2 separate regions of the Homo sapiens genome follow, and region 2 is linked to region 1. The links are contacts of gene promoters, found by promoter capture Hi-C in blood cells and fetal thymus (Javierre and others, 2016). All regions are on one chromosome and are shown on one strand. The core of a region is centred on a gene start or on the middle of the fragment in contact, and the rest is flanking DNA. Distances in the headings are between cores, read along the strand shown.

The links. Contacts are between HindIII fragments. The CHiCAGO score rates a contact against its expected background, and 5 or more counts as called.
Region 2: a fragment that was not itself captured here is called in contact with the fragment with the promoter of CMPK2 in region 1 in 1 of 17 cell types (M0 macrophages); the score reaches 8.1 in M0 macrophages.

The regions. Positions count from the first base shown.
Region 1 is chr2:6,863,860-6,869,010 of GRCh38, forward strand. CMPK2 (cytidine/uridine monophosphate kinase 2) reads right to left here and starts at 2,048. Exons shown (of 5, transcript NM_207315.4): 1 at 1,163-2,048. The coding sequence starts at 1,837. It also overlaps a transcript of RSAD2 not described here. RefSeq lists silencers at 1,359-1,798, 2,039-2,308 and an enhancer at 1,819-2,038. The HindIII fragment of the contact is 2,067 bases long and covers 509-2,575 here.
Region 2 is chr2:3,231,687-3,236,837 of GRCh38, forward strand. All of the region lies in intron 4 of EIPR1 (EARP complex and GARP complex interacting protein 1), which reads right to left. Among named protein-coding and RNA genes, the nearest start is that of LINC01250, 110 kb to the left of the region's middle. RefSeq lists an enhancer at 2,396-3,595. The HindIII fragment of the contact is 5,453 bases long and covers 1-5,151 here.

The DNA.
Region 1 (5,151 bases), core at 798-3,297:
ATCACAATGTCCTGTGACACCGCAACCATGGAACTACAGGCCCGCTGGGAACACTGTCTCACAAGAATGGGAAATCAGCTGCACAGTGGGCTGGAGAGAGCAGTCTTCATCTGCAGCATGTCCTCTCCTAGCCATTCAGGGGGCTGAGATAAACAGCCAAGCACTGCAATCATGAAGCTGGCAGAGCAGCGTCCCCCTGGGAATTCCCAGTTCCTCAATGTGCATTATCTCACTGCACGCTCACAGCATCTCAGAGCGAGGCTCAGACACTTATGTGCTTGCTCTGAGCATGGCAATCTTCTAAGTGCTTTACAAGTATTCAGTTGCCAATCTCTGTGAACTGGGGTGGGGGGGTGCTATTATTATTCCCACCATATGAATTAAGGAAACTGAGGCAGAGAGTTGAAGAAACTTGCTCAAAGTGACACAGCTAATAAATGCCAGAGTTTAAATTTAAATACACGTGGTTGACCTTGCGCTCTTAACTGCTCCACAACGCTGTCCCGTAAGCTTGGAAAATATTCCCAAGATCCATGGGGGCATCCTCAGGGCTCATCTGTGTCACAGGAGGACATCTGCCTAGCCTGCGATCAGAAAGAATTTTCAGTCTCTTTCTGTGGGTACCTGCTGTGAGTCAGATGTTTCCTTAATCAGGACAACATCGCAAGATGGGAATTGTACATGTCAAAGGGCAAAACTTAGAGTAGTTGAGTAACCTGCACAAGGTTCATGGCCAGTCGGTAGGTAAACACTATTTAAGTCTAAATTTCTTAAACCCCCTAAACTCATGCATTTTCTTTTTCACCCCAAGATCCTTGAATGGTGATCATCAGCAAATAAAATTACTTCCCAGCTGACATTATTTTCCCTCACTCCCGGCAGCCCCTTTACTCCCTCTGTACTGCTGTTGGGATGCTTTTACAGCAAGCATCGCGTGGCTTGGTGTAGGTCTATGTTCCACGTCAGGTTGGAAGATCCTTGCAAACAAGAATCTTAAAAGAGTTGCCTGGCATACAGGACACCTTCCCTACCTGATTTGTGAACGGAAATAAACAAACCACCCAGGCAAGAACCGGCTCTACAGACCAGCCTCTTGGTCCAGTTCTCTGGTCTGAAGGGTTCAGATGCCACGCTGGGAGCTGGAAGCGGACAGAACTCTTACCTCCTCCAAAACGGCCCGGGCGGCTTCCCGGTCCGGGAAGACCACGGAACTGGGCAAGTCTGGCACCACCGGGTGCAGCGGGGGCTCCGGGACGGGCACGACCTGTGCGCAGCCCACCTGCAGCCGCCTGCCGTCTTGCACCTCCCAGAGGCGCTGCCACAGCTGGCCGCGCGGGTCGGCCTCGAACTCGCCCAAGTGCGGGCGTGGTGCCTCCTGACAGGCGCCCAGCAGCTCGAGCAGCGCTTGCCGGGTGTCAGGGTCATCCAGGGGGTCGCGCAGCAGGAAGCCTTGCTGTGCGCCGCCGGCCTGGCCGCCCGGGCAGTAGCAGAGCAGCCTGAGCAGCTGGCACCGCTGGAAGGGGCCGCGGCGCAGCTGGTGCAGCAGGCGCTGGTGCAGCCGCGCCGCCCGGACCCGGGCCCCGCAGCCGGCGTCCGGGGTCACGGGCACGCACAGCGAGTAGCTGCGCTCCGGGGGCCCCAGCAGCGCCGCCAGGCGGGGGTCGGGGGCGTCTGCGTCGCCGGGGGCGTCGGCGCCTAGGGCGAAGTGAGCCAGGGTGCAGTCGGGAAGCTCCAGGACGAAGCGGCGCGGCGGAGCCATGGCCCCAGCGCAGACCCCGCGCCGCCCGAGCAGCGGCCCCGACAGTGGCCCGCGCAGGAGCCGGCGGGCGAAGGCCATGGGCGCCTCAGCGACGCCGCCCTCGGCCCCGCCTCGGAAACGAAACCTGGCGGGAGCCAGGCGCCGGCGGGAAACGAAACCCGGAGGGAGCCAGGCGCCAGCGGGAAACGAAAGCGAAGCGTTGCGGGGAAACGAAAGCCGGAGGCCCAGGCGGGGCAGGAGCCCTGGGGCTGGGGCGCCCTTCCGGCCTCTCCTCCTCGCCGCGAGATGTGCGCGATAAACGGCCGGCGCTCGGGAGCAGACGCTTGGCCCCGGGGCCCCAGGTGCGCGGCTCCGCGGGCCTGCGCGGTCCCCAGGCGCCGGCTCCCGGGGCTGACACCGAATGAGGCCCCGCGCCGTCGGCCCCAAGGTAGCTCCGTGTGCGTTCTGCGGGTGGCTGGCGGCCCCGACCCTGGTTTGAGTTCCTCCTCTGCGGCTTATGCCGGGTGCATGGAGGGGGGCGGGGGTGCACGCGCGAGGGACAGAGAAGTCCCTTCCCGGTGTAACGGGCTCTTCAACGCCCACTTGCAGGCGCACTACTGCCCTTGGATGACTGACCAGGCCCTGCAGACCATGGGCTCCCTCCCCGACCTCAACTCCTAGCTCTGACCACGCGTCCCCGCCCCTCTAATCCTGCAGAGCTGCTTTCCTGCGGGAACAGGGCGCAGTTCTGGCTCTTCCCTCTCCTGTATCTTATCTCACCTGTGCACTCACTCACCTGTGCACACACTCACCTTTGCACACACTCACCTGTGCACAAGCTTTTCCCTCTTCTTGGAATTGCCCTCTCCCTTTTGCTGACTCTCCAACTGGGAAGTGTCGCCCAGATTGGCACCTCGAAATCGCCTTTCTTCCACCAAATTGAAGTTTCCTGCACTAAGGTGAAGTGTGTCAGGATAGCACCCTCTGCCTGCCACAGTCCAGCATCAGCACTGTTGCTGCCTAACAGTGTAACTGCCTAACAGTGTAACAGTGTTTGCGCAGTTATTTGGATATTTTATTCTGTGTTTACTCATTAACTGATGCCTTTTAAAAATGATGTCAAGCAAACCAAAAACAAACAAAAAGATAATATTCTCCAGGGAAACTCTCTCAAAAAAATAGAATTGAGACGAAGATTGAAAACATTAGATGAGCTGAAAGCAGTTTTTTTTTTATGTCTTAATAGTATTGGACTTAAACTTGGGATTATATTTAATTCTGAAAAAAAAAGTCTTAACAAACGTGAAATATAGATAGGTGGTTGGAGTGTGGGTTAATAGGCTAAGAAGAAAGAAGAATTAGGAGTTTAAAATTTTTTAGCTCTTTGAGAATAGAATAGTTTTTATTCTTTCTCAGGAATTTCACTTTTGGACATTTAGCATGTACCGGTGGTTTCACGTGTATGTAGTATATGGAAGTAAGAGTCTTCTAGTTACTCCCTTTTCTTCTCTAAGACAGTACTGCATCCTCAAGCCTGCTTGACCTTTTCCCTATGCCATCCACCTCTCTGGATGTATTAGTCTATCCTGGCTGCCATAACAAAATACCACGGACTGGGCCGCCTAAACAATAGAAAATTTGTTTTCTCAAAGTTCAGGTGGCCAGAGAAGCTGGAGATCAAGTTGCCAGCAGGGTTTGCTTTTTCTGAGGCCTCTCTTTCTAGCGTGCAGACCGCCTCCTTCTCTCTGTGTTCTCACGGGACCTTTCCTTTGTGCTTGCATCCTTGGCGTCTCCTTGAAGTTCCAAATTTCCTCTTCTGGGAAGGACACCAGTCAGATTGGGTTAGGGCCCATCATAATGTTCTCATTTTAATGTAATCACCTATTGAAAGCCTTATTTTGAAATACAGTCATACTGTGAGGCACTGGGGGCTAGGCCTGAGCATGAATTTTGGGGGACATGATATAGCCTATAACCCCCCACATATCTGGGTTAGTAGCCTCTCCTGTGTCCCCCACCAAGGCTATTTGTATCCTCGGACCTTGACACTCCACAGTCACGTGCCAGTCTATTTCCCACCACTGAGCACCTTGAGGGTAAGTAGGAAGACCAGCTTCTTCCTAACTTTTCTCTGAGCCTCCAACTGAAAGAAAACCTGACACACAGTTTGCTAAATGAAGCATCTTACCTTTTTTAATTTAAGTTTTCCTCTCTATTTTTCACCTACCTTCGCCCTACGAAGAGATGTAAAGTTAATAACACTGCAGTATTTGGGCTTAGTCAATATTATATAAGTGTTGAAGATGTTGAAGATATATCTTCATTCATAAATAAAAATTTCTGTTAGATTTTCAAGCCCCTTCAAATTTGTAGGACAGAGACTCTGAGAGCCACAGCTGGATGTTTATATTGACTAAACATGCCTGTAGCCACCCATCGTTGCAGGTGGAAAGGAGAGAAGCTGCAGGCTGGGAAGATACTTCAAAGAGGTGTCTTTAAATGAATGAACAGCACAGCTATATCATAGGAAAAGCCATAATCTTCAACACTTACAGTATTAAACAAGAGAAAATGAAACTTTTCTAGCCATTCTGCTCCTAAGAAAAAAAGAAACAGAATGGGAGAATTAAAAATATAAATAGCAATTAATAAATAATAAAATGAAAAAATAACACTTTGAAAAAGAGCTTAGTTTTTGAAAACATGTTTAAACAGATATGTTTCTAGGTAGTTTAATTCAATTGGAAAAAGAAAGAAAATGCAAATCAGAATAGGAATAAATGAGATGATAGAACCACAAGTTCAAAAGGATACCCAAAAGAGAATATTACAAACAATTCCACATTCATAAAAGTGAATATTATAAAATAAATGATGAGCTCAGAAAATAAGAATTAATAAAATGAGCCCAGGATAGAATGTTGAGTCTATAACTCTGTAACCCAAATCCTAGGCTAGAAGTTAATGAAAGGGCTAAAAAGCACTGAGCAAGTTTCAGAGATCACTTAGTTATCAAGGAACAGATAAGCTCTCTCCCGCATAACCTTCTGTTTCTTTTTTAAATAAAAATTCATTCTAGCAATTTGTGGGCTTACAATTTGAAGAGTATTCTCCTCTCTCTTGGAGTTGGTTTTCTCACAAAGAAATGCTGTTGATACAGCTACCTTTGAGGGAAGAGTTGCCATAACAGGTCCAGCTGCTCACCCCTTGCATATCTCCACAGGAGCCTCAAACCATGATTGCTGTTGGGCCAAACTTTGGAAAGATGACCCTCCAGAGGCTCTTTATATTCATGGTTGGTGATTCTGTTATGTACACCTGGAGCAATACTCCATGACATGCCAGCTTGCGATCATTTTGCACAAACGTCAAGATTAACGATGTGCACCTCATTCATTGTCGGGGTCCTGAGA
Region 2 (5,151 bases), core at 1,225-3,724, 3.6 Mb before region 1:
CCCTTAATAATGGTATATAATCCTTTTACTGTGCTGCTGTATTTGGTTTACTAATATTTTATCGAGGACTTGCACTTACTTTCATCAGATGTTCTAGCCTGTAATTTTCTCTTCTAGTAGTGTCTTTGTCAGGCTTTAACATCAGACTAATGCTGGTCTCATAAAATAAGTTTGGAAGTGTTCCCTCTTCTTAATTTTGTGGAAAGAATTTGAAAAGAACAAACATTAATTCTTCTTAAAATATTTCGCAGAATTCAGCAGTGAAGTCATCAGGTCCTGGGCTTTTCTTTGTTGGGAGATTTTTGATTACTGATTTAATCTCTACTCATTGTTGATTTATTCAGATTTTCTATTTCGTCTTTATTCAGTCTTGGTAGGTTGTATGTTTCCTCTATTTCTTCTAGGTTATCCAATTTGTTTACGCATAATTGTTCACAGTAGTCTCTTATGATCCTTTGTATTTCTGTGGAACCATTTATATTGTCTCTTATTTCTGATTTTGTTTGTGTTTTCTCACTTTCTTTAGCCTCACTAAAGGCTTGTCAACTTCTTTATCTTTTCGAAAAGCAGCTCTAAGTTTTGATATTTCAATTGCTTTTCTCATGTCTATTTCATATATTTCTGCTCTGGGTTTTGTTATTTCCTTCCTTCTGCTAACTTTGGGCCTAGTTTGTTCCTTCCTCTAGTCCCTGATGTATAAAGTTGAGTTGATTATTTGAGATCTTTCTTTTTTTCTTCATGTAGGCATTTATTGCTATTAAATTCCTTCTTAGACCTGCTTTTGCTGCATCCCATCATTTTGGTATGTTGTGGCTCCATTTTCATTTGCCTTAAGATATTTTTTGATCTCCTGTTTCAATGTTGGTCTCTTTTTAGTTATTTTAGGCTTTTTGGCTAGAATTTACGTTGAGGTGCATCATCCGTCTTTTGCCTGCTTCACTGAGCACAGGCCAGTTATGACCCATTTCAACACTGTTAGGACAGCATCACACTCACTCTCCTCTCAGGGGAGAGAGCCGGTTCCCCCATGTTGAATAGGCCTGAATAGGGTTTGCTTTTATGAAAATTTAGTCAGCAGCCCCGTGGATGGTTATCTACTCCGTCTCTGTTTCTGTGTGTGTCCCTGTCTGCACTGGCTTCTCTCCTCTCTCAACCACCCTGAAAAGCACATACACTTAGATGTAACGAGTTTTGCTAACAAAATAATAAATAGCCCTAAGTGGGCATTAAAGAAGTTCTCCTCTGAGTAAAACACAAGAAGCCTCTTGCCTTTGCGAAGTCTCACGTTAAGCTGTATTACTTTACACTGTAAACGCAAAGTCATATATGCCCATTAAAAAGTTTAAAACTTTAGAAAAGTAGAAGTCTCTCATACTCCCACCCACAGATGATAACTACTGTTAATAAGTGATTGATATGCAGCTTTCCAGGTCTTTTCTATGCATACAGTGGTATGTATAATACAATCATAATCATTACTTACAAACATGTGATCAGGCTATTAATGTTATTCTGCAACTTGCTTTTTTTTTTAACTTAAAATATATCCTGGGTAACTTTCCATATCAAATAGATATAATTCTTTCCAAAGGGCACACAGAATTCTATCGTGTGAATTTCCATAATTTTTTAATCCAATTCCCATGTATGCCACTTCAGTTGTTTCCAATTTTTCACACAATTGATTCATACAATGAAGCAGTAAGTATCCTGGAGAAAGACTTCTTGGCACACTTTAGGGTAAGTGCTTAGAGCTATAATTGCTGGGCCAAAACACAGACATGTTTCCCAAATTGTCTTCCTAGAATGTGCATTTCCCCCGGCATTCTCAGGGACACTGGATCCCAGCCGTAACTGTGATAATGACCGTGCTGATCCCTTCCCCAAGCCAACCTCACAGGGTATGTCTTCGCTGCTTTAATCTGCGTTTTCTAACAACTAGGAAGTTTGTCCACCCGTCAAGTGTGTACTGGCTGCTTCTCACACATCTGTGAATTGCTTCTTCATTCATTGCATCTATTTTGGAAGTCAAGCTAAGGAGCCTTCAAAGGAAAGTCTGTTGACTTGTTCTTCATCAAAGTTCCATCTGGGTAAAATGTCCAGTGAGCTGAGGCCTAAGTGGGTGAAGAATTACAGCAATAGAGAAGTTACTTACTTTTCCCTTAGAACTTTAAAAATCTCAAAGATAGGAGTCAAAGTTCTCAGCACCCTGAGCAGGTGTCAGGCTTTCTCTATAAGGGGCTCAATGACAAGTATTTTCAGTTTTGTGGGCCAGGTCAGGCTTCTGAGCTACTCAGCTCTGTCACTGTAACATAAAAGTGGCTACAGACAATATATGACCAAAGGGTAGCAGCCAGGATCCAACAGAACTTTATTTACACAAGCAGGCAGCAGGCTGGATTAGGCCCAGGGCCACAGAGTGAGGGCGTGGTGTGGATCCATATTACTGCTAGAATTAAAAATGAAACAAAACAAAAAACTTGCAGGAATGAGGGCACATGTGTTTGGCATGTCTTGTATTTTGCTGTTTTTTTTACCAATAAATTGTGGTTTGTGTCGCTCAATGTCACTGGCTGAAAATACCTAATACATCGCATGCTTAAATTCTGAAACTGAAAAGCCAACTTTTTGCTTTAAACATGTCTGACTGAACCACTCAGAATTCCTTCTTGTTTCTCTACCTTTTCCATCTTTAACAACAGGCAAGAGTCCCCAAGAGCAGGCAGGAGTTCTCCGTGTCGGCTGGGGACACCCACGTGGGAGGACATCGCATCGAGGCTCCGGCAGCCAGGGCCCTGTGTCACGACGCTCCACACTGGGGAGGCCCAACATGGTGAATGCACAATAAATAAGACCAGACCCAGGCTGCCAGAGCCCAGGGCCGTGGCGGTCAACACCCTGATAGAAGGGGAAAAAGAAAGTCTCATCCCTCACTCCTGTTGGGGTCCCCTGCAGCCCCTGCGTCACTACAGCACACACTGTAAAAGTGCGGGACGCTGTTGAATTACAAGCGGCAGCATTCACAAAACTGAGCCCCACTCCGCGGAAGCCTCTGCAGTCTCTCTCCAAGCCCTGCCCTTGCACTGGAAGATGCTCCTACTTTGCACAAGAGACCTGCTCTCTTGAGTGTCAAAATCCTGTGCTTTGAAGTAAGTGTTCATCTCTGAGGTCACAAGGCCATGGCCTCCAAAAGACACTCCAGAGAGTTTAGCTAACCAGCTGGTCCCGGGCCTGTGGCCACATCCCTAATCTGTCATCAGTTTTTCCTTGCTGGGATAGGAACTTGACTCCTCAAGAAAATAGCTTTCTCTTTCATAAAAGGTGAGAAAAGAATTTCAGCAAGGTAATTATCCTGCCTTTTAAGTCTGTGTGTGTTTTCCACCGGCAAGTTAGAACAGTTTCAGACTAACATGCAAACTTGCACATCAAAAACTCTGGAAGATGCAAATTGAAAAGGAAAAAGAAAATGACAACCTCTGATGGCTGCTTACCTGTTATTCACTCACTACCCTCTTCAAAGATGTATGAGCCAGATGAGTGCTACAAATGACTTAAAAAGGTGACGCCGACATGGAGCCACAGGAATAGGTCACATCCCCTCAGCTCCTCCCTCTTCTTGGCCTCAACCGGCCTTCATCTGAAGAATAAGAGCTATGACCATCTGCACAGCAGTGGGTGGCTTCTGTGTTACCAAAGGTTTCCTTTAGAAACACAAACATGTGTGCATGCGGGTGCGCACACACACACACACACGCGTGCGCGCACACACACACACACCCCCCAATAGCCAGAGCTCTCAGCGACTTCCCAAGGTGACTGGCAAGTGCTCAAGTGGGCCAGGTCCTTCAGGTCCACGCTACAGCACTGCCTAATTTTTCAAAGCACCCGACAAGCGTGGAAACCTTGTGGTGCCCCTGCAATTACAGCTCTTTGAAGAAGTCTCAAATGAACTTAATTCAACTCTAAGTTTTTGCCAAACTTATTTTAAGATTCCACACATTTATTATAGAATGCAGGATTTTAAAGGCTTATCACATAATACAAATGAACAAAATTACCAGAAAGGACATCAAAATCCTTTTCTTTGAGCAATAATTCCTTGTTATTAATCAGATTTCCTGGTATTTATTGACCCATGTCAGCACTTGGTCCAGAGGTAAAGAATGCCCCAAATTAGCACCCATCACCTGACCATTGCATCCTAAGCTCTGCATGAAAGCTGGAGCTTTACGACAGCTCTCCCTCCCAGTGAGACCCTCGGAGCAGGACTTAGGTGGAGAAAAGTGGGTTTTGCCAAATGGGCACTAGTAATCACGGTAAGAGCAACATCAACACCCGGGCACTCCTGTTGACATGCTAAGAGCGCCTCCACATGCATGAAGGTGCTGGCACCACACCACTCTCCCGCCACCTAGAAATGAACAGTCACAGCCCGCAGCACAGAACTGAACAACCCTGTGAGGCAGGGAGGCTGTCATGACATCGCCGTACGTGTACTGTATGTTAAAGTCTACAGAATACTGTTATATCCACCAAGAATATGTGGGAAAAAGCATGAACTGCGCAGGAAAACAATGATTAAAGATGGGAAACTGGGCTCAGAGAGTTCTGTTAAGGAACCTGGCCAACATGGCATCTCTGGCAAGTCAGGAACAAATCCCAGTCCTCATCCTTGTCCCTCGCTGCCTGGCCCAGGGACATGAGCAGAGGCTGGGACTGATGACAGCCATGAGAGCTCAGCCCAGGTGATGACTTCACTCAGGAGGAGGACATGGGGATCTGTGAGCAATGCCCAAGGACCTGGCTGAAAACCACACCTGAGAAAGGTGACTACAGGGCCAGGGCAGGACACAACTCGGGCCAGGGAACAGAAGGGACGCAATCGTGGGCAAGACCAGGCAGGCCAGGTACCATTTCAGGACAGGATCCCAGAGGGCCAGCTTCACTGTAGGTGGCACCCAAGGCGTCTGCTCGGTGCAGGCCCTGGGCTACCTGGACAGCATTCTCCTTCTCACACTGACTGTGAGCCTAGGAGGTGACTCCTACGCTCTTCCTTATTGTACAGATGAGGTAACAAACACAGAAAGATGAGTGACCAGCCCCAAATTAAAAAGCTATAAATGGCAGAGCTGAGAGTCAACCAAGGGCTGA